3 separate regions of the Homo sapiens genome follow, and regions 1 and 3 are each linked to region 2. The links are contacts of gene promoters, found by promoter capture Hi-C in blood cells and fetal thymus (Javierre and others, 2016). All regions are on one chromosome and are shown on one strand. Each heading gives the region's core, a stretch centred on a gene start or on the middle of the fragment in contact. The rest is flanking DNA. Distances are from core to core; before and after follow the strand shown. Region 1 overlaps FGD6 (FYVE, RhoGEF and PH domain containing 6). Region 2 holds the start of ZFC3H1 (zinc finger C3H1-type containing). Region 3 holds the start of TMPO (thymopoietin).

Region 1 (2,850 bases), core at 265-2,764, about 24 Mb after region 2:
AAATAATCACATTCAAAAATGTACATCCATTTTAATGTAGAATAATATTTTGAAAAGTTAGCAGGAATCAATTTCAATACGATTATTGAAAAATTCCTTAATTATTAATAGGAACAAGTGTTCAACTAAGTCACTGGTAGAGCAATATCCAAAATCCTTCATTATTTTTTTTTCATGGCTCTATTTTGGAAGAAACACAACTCAAAAAATAATAAGCCATTATATTATGGTCTACTCCAATGTGAAATAAGTGCATGACATTTGGCAATAAATCTAGCACCTTTGGATCTTAATACTGCATCAACAGTCAGACCCAAAGCTTCTTAGAGCAAAGCAGCAAATCTTTTATTTACACAGCTGTTTGGCTCCAGGGAAATATAAGGTAAGAAAGTAAAGCACTAGTACCATTTTACTAACTATTACAAACATACTCGTCATCTGTTACACACAGATGGCTGTGGTTCACGTGTACACTCTCTGGCTACTGGACCAGCCAAAACGCAAAGCACAGACAATGAAGACAGTGACCTGTACATGTTCAAAAGGACACAAAATATATACCTATATATACCTATAATTCTCTCTCCTTTTTTCTTTTTTTTTTTTTTTTTTTGAGATGGAGTCTTGCTCTGTCACCCAGGCTAGAGTGCAGTGGCTCGATCTCGGCTCACCACAACCTCCGCCTCGCTGGCTCAAGCAATTTTCATATCAGCCTCCCGAATAGCTGGGACTACAGGCGCACCCCACCACACCTGGCTAATTTTTGTATTTTTAGTAGAGACAGGGTTTTGCCATGTTGGCCAGGCTGGTCTCAAACTCCTGACCTCAAGTGATCCACCCGCCTTGGCCTCCCAAAGTGATGGAATTACAGGCTTGAGCCACTGCGCCCAGCCTCTCCTTTTTCATATACAGCTTAAAATAATTCTGAAATCTCCACTAAGGGCAGATTATTTTATAGATGTAGAAAAACAAAGCAAGCTTTTCTGCTGGATACATATAACCTAGATGTTCTACAACATTCCTTTTATTTTCTTAAATTAAACCAACCCTTCCAAATACCACAGATTAGATTCAAAAGCAAAAATCCCCTCCCTTAACTTCAAGTAACTTTCCTAAACGTTTCAATGAATTTGACTATTGTTCCCAAAAAGCACCATAATCAGCTTGTAAGAACTATGTATACATATAAGAATGGGTAGAAATAAAACCCCAGTTCTCTTCCATATTCCCCATCTAGACACCAGAAAGAATTATGATAAATCCAACAGATGGGTGAGCAAAAAAGTAGTTGATGCTTCTCAGCCAGCAATGCTAAAAACCAACCAACTCGGCTAGACACAGGAAGTGTCCCACTTTAAACACCACAAAAATTTCTGTGGATTTCTTTAATTGTAAAGTTGATAAAATACAAAAATAGCTTGCATTATTTTAGGATAATTCAAATGCAAGAATCATGAACTTCCAGTCTGGGCCCTAGAAATTGGGTTTACATAAATGTGAAATTACATGCTTCTGTGCCTGTTCCTTATAAACTGTTAAGACTGGAATTGAAAACTGATACATATAAGACACGGTTATTTTAAATACATTTGACACCTCCAAAAAGGAAAGAGCTAAAACTGGCTGGAAGGATTTTAAAATTTCCAACCACTTTTAATTTAAATCAATTTCTTGAACGAAGGTAAGGCACAGAAATGTAGGATGAAAATAATTTACCTTATGTAAGTATAAAGCCTCCCTTTGGCAAAGAAAAGAGAGTTTATAAAGATATCTCATATAAGTGCATATAACATCAAAAAGGAAAGACCCACACAACACCCACTTCTTGCTTTCTTTTCCTATTGGCTAACTTCTTGTTTCGTTTGTTGTAATCTGATCACAGGGAGCAATGCAACACTACAATATATCTAGGCTTTAGAAATAATACAAATCAGAACATTTGAGTGCTGTTGGACAGTTTCAAGTTGCAAGAATTTTAAACAAATGCCAAGAAAAGCAATGAAAATTTAATCTGATACTTAAGTGCTGATTCTGGAAGTAACCTTGAGAAGAAGCTTTAAACTATTTCACTATAAAATTTCTAATGAAAGTTTCAACGTGGACAAAAACGTAAAATAACCCATAACACTCTACTTAATACATAAGTTCTGGTTTAAAAATTAACCTATGTACTTACGAAGTGAACGTAACACCACTTTGGTAATTATTTTGTAAAACAGAAATTGTTCCTTAAGAATGTTCAGAAACACAACGTCTAGAATTGCTGAAAATCCACACAAAGATAGAGGCTTTGTCATTTGGATGAAGGGGAAAGAACTATGGGAGGCAGACAGAAAATAAAGCTTTGTTTACCCTAATCAGGTAGAAACAAACAAAATAATTGTAATTGGGTGCAGACAAGCAAAAAAAAAAAAAAAAAAAAAACCTCAACAATCTCAACTCCTCTGCTTCTCAGGTAACAGAGGTAAAACCACCAGGACATGACAATGTCTACGCCTCTTTAAAATGGGTAAAAGGTTTACCAGCAGATACAAGGTTGAAAGCGACTCACTTAGTGGCCAAATTGAACACGCTGAGAACACTGCCTTTACCTATAATAACTGATCTATTAACTTGGGAATCTACACTATTTTCACATGCAAAGGCGAAGTCCTCGCACTGCTGGAGAGATGAGCGAACGCCCTTCACACATCGCATTTCACCTGGTGCAGAGCCCCCAGCACAGTCCCCCTTGGAAGGGAGATCCCGAGAAATCCCGGGTTTCCAAACAGCCCCTCTGGGCAGGAAAAGACGAGAAAGCCGGCAGCGAATCCCATTAGCTCCGCGCTTGCCGAGGTGCTCGGCAAAGGT
Region 2 (3,007 bases), core at 436-2,935:
CTGTATAAATGCTGAGTAAACTCAGTAATGTTTAAAACTGAGAATAAGGTTAGAAGTAGGAAAAATCTGGAATGTTACTATTTCCTTTCTCAACTTACCCGTAATCTCCACCCTCGCATACACATTCCTCCACTCTAACGTATTAAAATAAAAATGCTGATAAGTTTATCTTTCTCTCTCTGGCCCTCATTTAGTCAGCACGAAGTTACACAATGTGCAAAAGTGAACACAGATAGAAACGTAAAGGAGGTAAAGTGTTCCAAAAAGATCAAATGAATCAAAAAGCTCTGAAACAGACTTGGTAAAGACACCAGAGTTGTTTTTTTTTTACCCCTCCCCCCCCCACTTTAAAAGGCAGCAACCGGAATAAATCAAGATAAAAACAGAATCACAAAAATAGTGCAGGACTGTGCAGATTAAAACTTTACAATTTTCAACGTCAAACTGCAATATGATAAAGCAACAATATTACTTAAACTGTTTATGAATATTTTTTCTCTAACAATCCAAGTCAACTTCATATAAAACACAAAGTTTCTGTACCAGCAAAAATACAAATGCTAATGAAACTTGGGCTTCTAAGGTATTATTACAAATCAGACTTAACTGTCTTAGATTTCATAAGCTTAACCCAATCCACAGCACGTTAATATACCCAATGAAGCAGTCTTAAGAATAACGCTATAGTGTGACACATGGGGAATTACCAAAGAACAACTTAAAGTATACTGACACAGGGAGAAATAAGCGGTTCTGATGATTCAAAGTTACACTCGTCTCACAGACCTAGTAATGACGCTAAAGGGAACTTTAGTGACACACCCAGCGCCGACCGCCACGTTAAGGATACAGCTCTTCCGAGGTGGAGAGGGCTCTCGCCAGCTCTGACTGCTGCTGAACCCGGATCCTGCTCCTCCTCCCAGAGGAGGTCTGCACCCCGGCTTGCCTCCTCGCTCACCCACTCCTCGCCCCCGACTCCAGCGACTCCCACCCCGGTAAGGCCTGCCTCGAAAGCGGAAACGGTCCAAGGCGAGGTGGCTCCGCTCCCAGAAAGACGGCCGGGGACTGCTTTCGGACAGTGAGCTCGAAGGCATCCGTACAGAAGGCGGATGAGACCGGAACGGTTCTTTGGGTCGGTAGCTGCTGGGTCCCCTGAGGTGGCCCCGCTCAGACGCGTGCCGCGAGCGTGAGAAATTCCTCAGCTGCTGCTGAGAAGAGGACGATGACGAGGAAGAGCCACCGCCTCCGCCAGATCCACCGCCCCGGGCCGAGTGAGGAGGCCTTCGCCGCGGATAGGGTAACAGCCCGCCGCCGCTGCTGCTGCTGCTGCTCCGACTCCGTATCTGGCTGTTATTATCGTCGTCACTGATTTCCCCATCTTCAAGCTCCCCTTCTTCCTTCGGCGAGAGGCCACTGGAGGCCGGGGCCGGAGTATCTGCGGTCGCCATCCGGGGAGCAGCGCCTTCCACACAACCTTAGCCCTCCGTCCGGGGATCCGCCCGACAATTGCCTCGTTTCCCTTCTTTCCTAACGGACTGGGTCGGTGCGGTCTTACCCTACTCGGACACCAAGCGGCCTCTGCTCCCCAACTTCCCCGCACCCCAGCACCCCAGCTCTCTCTCGCCGGACCGTCGCAACCCAGTTCCCTTTCCTAGCGCCCCCTTGCTCCTCAGCGATCGGGGTTCTTCCGCCTCGCGAGAAAGGGACTCTGGTAGCGGCTGTACCCGAAACGTCACTTCCTGCGACACGCAGGAAACAAAGGCTCCCAGTTCACGCGATAATAAGACCAACTCGATACTCACTAGGATTTGTAGTCTTTCGTCTTTCTTCGGGTTTACTCTTCCGGTCCTAGGGTCACACCCACCGCAGGGTCTGGCTTGGTACAGTTGGGTGCATGCAGAAGTAGGTGGAGCTGCTGTTGCAGCCTTGAGAGAGTTTTATTGTAAAACTCTTGTAATTTATAGTAATCGGAGGGGAAAACACCTCTTCCTTTTAATTGCTCTGAGGACCGCTGCCAAAGAAACGCAGTAGATCCGCTCCCTCTTGGGGGCGGGGAGAAAGAACGGGTTGTGTCCGCCATGTTGGTGAAGTCAAGCGAAGGCGACTAGAGCTCCAGGAGGGCCAGTTCTGTGGGCTCTAGTCGGCCATATTAATAAAGAGAAAGGGAAGGCTGACCGTCCTTCGCCTCCGCCCCCACATACACACCCCTTCTTCCCACTCCGCTCTCACGACTAAGCTCTCACGATTAAGGCACGCCTGCCTCGATTGTCCAGCCTCTGCCAGAAGAAAGCTTAGCAGCCAGCGCCTCAGTAGAGACCTAAGGGCGCTGAATGAGTGGGAAAGGGAAATGCCGACCAATTGCGCTGCGGCGGGCTGTGCCACTACCTACAACAAGCACATTAACATCAGCTTCCACAGGTAACCTGGGCAGGGAGTGGGGGTGACGGAAACTGGAGTTCCTATTGTGGCTATCGCTTGTGTGGAAGGAACAGGAGGATTCTGCTAATTCTAATAACTTTCCCAGCTGGTAGCAGGGAAGCATCGTATGTCCTTTGTGTTTCTCAAATCTGCCCAATTGTTCTCTGCTTTCGGGGAAGCTTTACTCATTTTCTAAAAGAAATCCAAGTACTGTTTGGTCATTACCCCTTAGTAAAAAAAAGTAACAGGAGGATATCGTAATTTTCTACTGTTTTATTCCTCTGTTAGACCGGGCCTTGACATGAATGACGCCGTAAGGGAGAAAGAGATCTTCCCAATCAGCAATCACCGTAAAAGCCTGCTGTGTTCCCGTTAAAATTAGGAAATTCTCACTAGATGAATTGACATGGGAGGCATTTAGATTTCTAATAGTCACATAGTAATTCTGCGGAGGAATTGAGTCATCTTTGATAGCCATGGAATTAAGCGATGTTAATTAAAGTGCAAAAGATAACCTTTCTGTTCTTACTAGAATAGAGTAATAAAAAGAACCTAGGTTTTCTTTTGTTTGCTGGAAGAAAAATCAAAA
Region 3 (2,731 bases), core at 32-2,531, about 27 Mb after region 2:
AGATTTTTATAAAGGAATTAGTTACCTCTAGGAAAATAATTATCACTAAAAGAAATAATATCGCAATTTGAATAAAAGTAAGTCGCTTAAATCATAGGAAACATTTTTAGTGAAGGCGTTTGTTTTAAATGTATTCTAACCTAGCAATGTAGAAAGCAGGCAAACATTTAAAAAAAATTTAACCAGTTTCTAAAACATAGTTTGGAGCTCAGATTCTGGGGAAATGATTAACACACCCTACATCCAAGGTCTCCTTTCCTTTCTAGAAAGAAAGCATCTTTAAACATACATATTCATCAGAAATACAAATATTTGTCATCAGTGATACTAATTTCCAGGCAAACATTTTAATTGCAGTCAATGTATTAGATTCTACCAGGTTTTAATTTGGATCGGTAATACGGGTTTGATTAGGGTTCTAGGCCTAATTATAGGTCACTAGTCTTCCTTTAGGATTATGCACCATCTGTTATTTTAAATTGACCATTGAGGGGGTTCCCAAGGGTTCTCCTTCGTTTTGTTATCAAACGTTAGGTTTAGGATTCTTGCGGGTGGTGGGATCCAAAGCCAGAGACGGTTTCAACAAAAATGCAAGCGCGAATTTGTCTTGCGTCTGAACGCACTGTTCAAATTAAACAATTTAGACATGCCCCAACTATGACACTAAGAAGTGAATGGTATAGTACACTTTTGTCACAAATTCAAGGGTAATTTAAGTGCCCGATTGTAGAGGTCTGGCTTCCCCTGGGTTTCTGGAACAAAAGAAGCGTTCGCGAGGAGAGGGGTAACTCCCCGCCCTCCCCCTCCCAAAGTAAATCAAATCAAGGAATATGAGTGCCTGCAGACAAGCCTCGCTTCTTTTCTTCCCCTTCAGGGCTAGCGTTTGGGGAAGGCAAGGCTGCGGCTACTCTTGGAGCTTCAGTGTCCCGGGAGGAAGAAAGGCCCAGCCAAGGGTCCTCACACTGGCGTGGAATTCGGCGCGTTCGTAGGCGATCGACCCCAGAGACGAAAGCTGCTTCTCAAGCTGGGGGAGGGAGAGGAAACGGCGCACAAAAGCAGTACGACCTGTCCCTTATCGGCGTCTAAGGGGAAGGGTGGAGAAAACGAAAACAGAAGCGGGCCGGGAGCCTCGGCTCCCGCCCCAGCGCCTTTTAAACTGCGTTTCTACCTCCTCTCGCTCAGCGCGGCGGCTAATGGAACCCGCGCGAGCCGTCTCGCCAATCACCGCCGCGCTTCCTCCCGTCGCCCGCCAATGGCGGCGCGCGTTCTTGGGGCGTGGGCGAAGCAGGCTGCTCGCCTCCTGCCTGTAGTGTGTGGGCTGGGGTTGGTGCGAGCTTCCAGCTTGGCCGCAGTTGGTTCGTAGTTCGGCTCTGGGGTCTTTTGTGTCCGGGTCTGGCTTGGCTTTGTGTCCGCGAGTTTTTGTTCCGCTCCGCAGCGCTCTTCCCGGGCAGGAGCCGTGAGGCTCGGAGGCGGCAGCGCGGTCCCCGGCCAGGAGCAAGCGCGCCGGCGTGAGCGGCGGCGGCAAAGGCTGTGGGGAGGGGGCTTCGCAGATCCCCGAGATGCCGGAGTTCCTGGAAGACCCCTCGGTCCTGACAAAAGACAAGTTGAAGAGTGAGTTGGTCGCCAACAATGTGACGCTGCCGGCCGGGGAGCAGCGCAAAGACGTGTACGTCCAGCTCTACCTGCAGCACCTCACGGCTCGCAACCGGCCGCCGCTCCCCGCCGGCACCAACAGCAAGGGGCCCCCGGACTTCTCCAGTGACGAAGAGCGCGAGCCCACCCCGGTCCTCGGCTCTGGGGCCGCCGCCGCGGGCCGGAGCCGAGCAGCCGTCGGCAGGGTAAGGACGCGGGGCCGGGGCTACAAAGGCGGGCGTTTGGCGGTTGCCGCGCGCGCTCGCCGCCGTTTGCAGCCCCTCCCTCCCGGGCGCCCCCTCGGGCCTCCCAGGTGCGGGGCTGTCCCTGCGCCCCCTCGCGTCGCCCCTTCCCCGCGGGGCTGCAGGCGCCGGAGCGGAGAGGCCAGAAGTTGGGGCCGCGGGGTTCGCGTTCTTTGACGTGTGGGTCTGGGAGGTGTGGAGTTGCGTTGGCGGCGGTTGTTTTGCACGCAGTCGACGCCGCTTCCCTGGACCACCAGCCGCCTGCAGCGGGCGTTTAGACGGGGACTTCCGTGCCCTTTCGAAAGCTCTGGAGGGGTGGCCCCAAAATGCTATAGGTTAAGTTCGAGCGTTTTCCCGCTTTATTAACTGAAATGACTCGCAGCAGAGTCTCAGAGCGCTCCCTGGAGGGCAACTGATGACACTCTAATTTCTAACCAAAATTTGAAATGAGGAAATTCCCGCCTTTTTATACTTTTGCGTGTGGAGGGCTTTTTGAACCGTTTATGTTTTCTAGTTTGTTTTAATTTTTCCCAGCAACAGGCCATCTTTTGGCGGAACAGGTTCATGCCGAATTAAAAGGAGCATTTTAAACTATATTTTTAGGCGCCTATTATAATTTTTTAGTTTTTATTTATTTATTTTTTTAGATGGAGTGTCGCACTTGTTGCCCAGGCTGGAGTGCAATGGCGAGATCTCGGCTCACCGCAACCTCCACCTCCCGGGTTCAAGCGATTCTCCTGCCTCAGCCTCCCGAGTAGCTGGGATTACAGGCATGCGCCGCCACGCCCGGCTGATTTGTGTATTTTTTAGTAGAGACGGGGTTTCTCCAAGTTGGTCAGGCTGGTCTCGAACTCCTG

What was found. The method cuts DNA at HindIII sites, captures the fragments that hold promoters and counts their contacts. A CHiCAGO score of 5 or more calls a contact.
Region 1: a fragment that was not itself captured here is called in contact with the fragment with the promoter of ZFC3H1 in region 2 in 1 of 17 cell types (total CD4 T cells); the score reaches 6.6 in total CD4 T cells.
Region 3: a contact is called between the fragment with the promoter of TMPO here and the fragment with the promoter of ZFC3H1 in region 2, in 3 of 17 cell types (activated CD4 T cells, fetal thymus and naive CD4 T cells). The highest score is 14.0, in activated CD4 T cells.

The regions. Positions count from the first base shown.
Region 1 is chr12:95,214,268-95,217,117 of GRCh38, forward strand. All of the region lies in intron 1 of FGD6 (FYVE, RhoGEF and PH domain containing 6), which reads right to left. Among named protein-coding and RNA genes, the nearest start is that of FGD6, 1.8 kb to the right of the region's middle. The HindIII fragment of the contact is 1,076 bases long and covers 977-2,052 here.
Region 2 is chr12:71,662,163-71,665,169 of GRCh38, forward strand. It overlaps ZFC3H1 (zinc finger C3H1-type containing), which reads right to left and starts at 1,686. Exons shown (of 35, transcript NM_144982.5): 1 at 851-1,686. The coding sequence starts at 1,448. THAP2 (THAP domain containing 2) reads left to right here and starts at 2,139. Exons shown (of 3, transcript NM_031435.4): 1 at 2,139-2,418. The coding sequence starts at 2,348. RefSeq lists enhancers at 1,309-1,428, 1,781-2,339, 1,789-2,148. The HindIII fragment of the contact is 1,665 bases long and covers 624-2,288 here.
Region 3 is chr12:98,514,309-98,517,039 of GRCh38, forward strand. TMPO (thymopoietin) reads left to right here and starts at 1,282. Exons shown (of 9, transcript NM_001032283.3): 1 at 1,282-1,838. The coding sequence starts at 1,560. TMPO-AS1 (TMPO antisense RNA 1) reads right to left here and starts at 1,918. Exons shown (of 2, transcript NR_027157.1): 1 at 1,683-1,918; 2 at 1-1,589. RefSeq lists enhancers at 902-981, 1,242-1,431 and a silencer at 1,772-2,041. The HindIII fragment of the contact is 4,246 bases long and covers 1-2,731 here.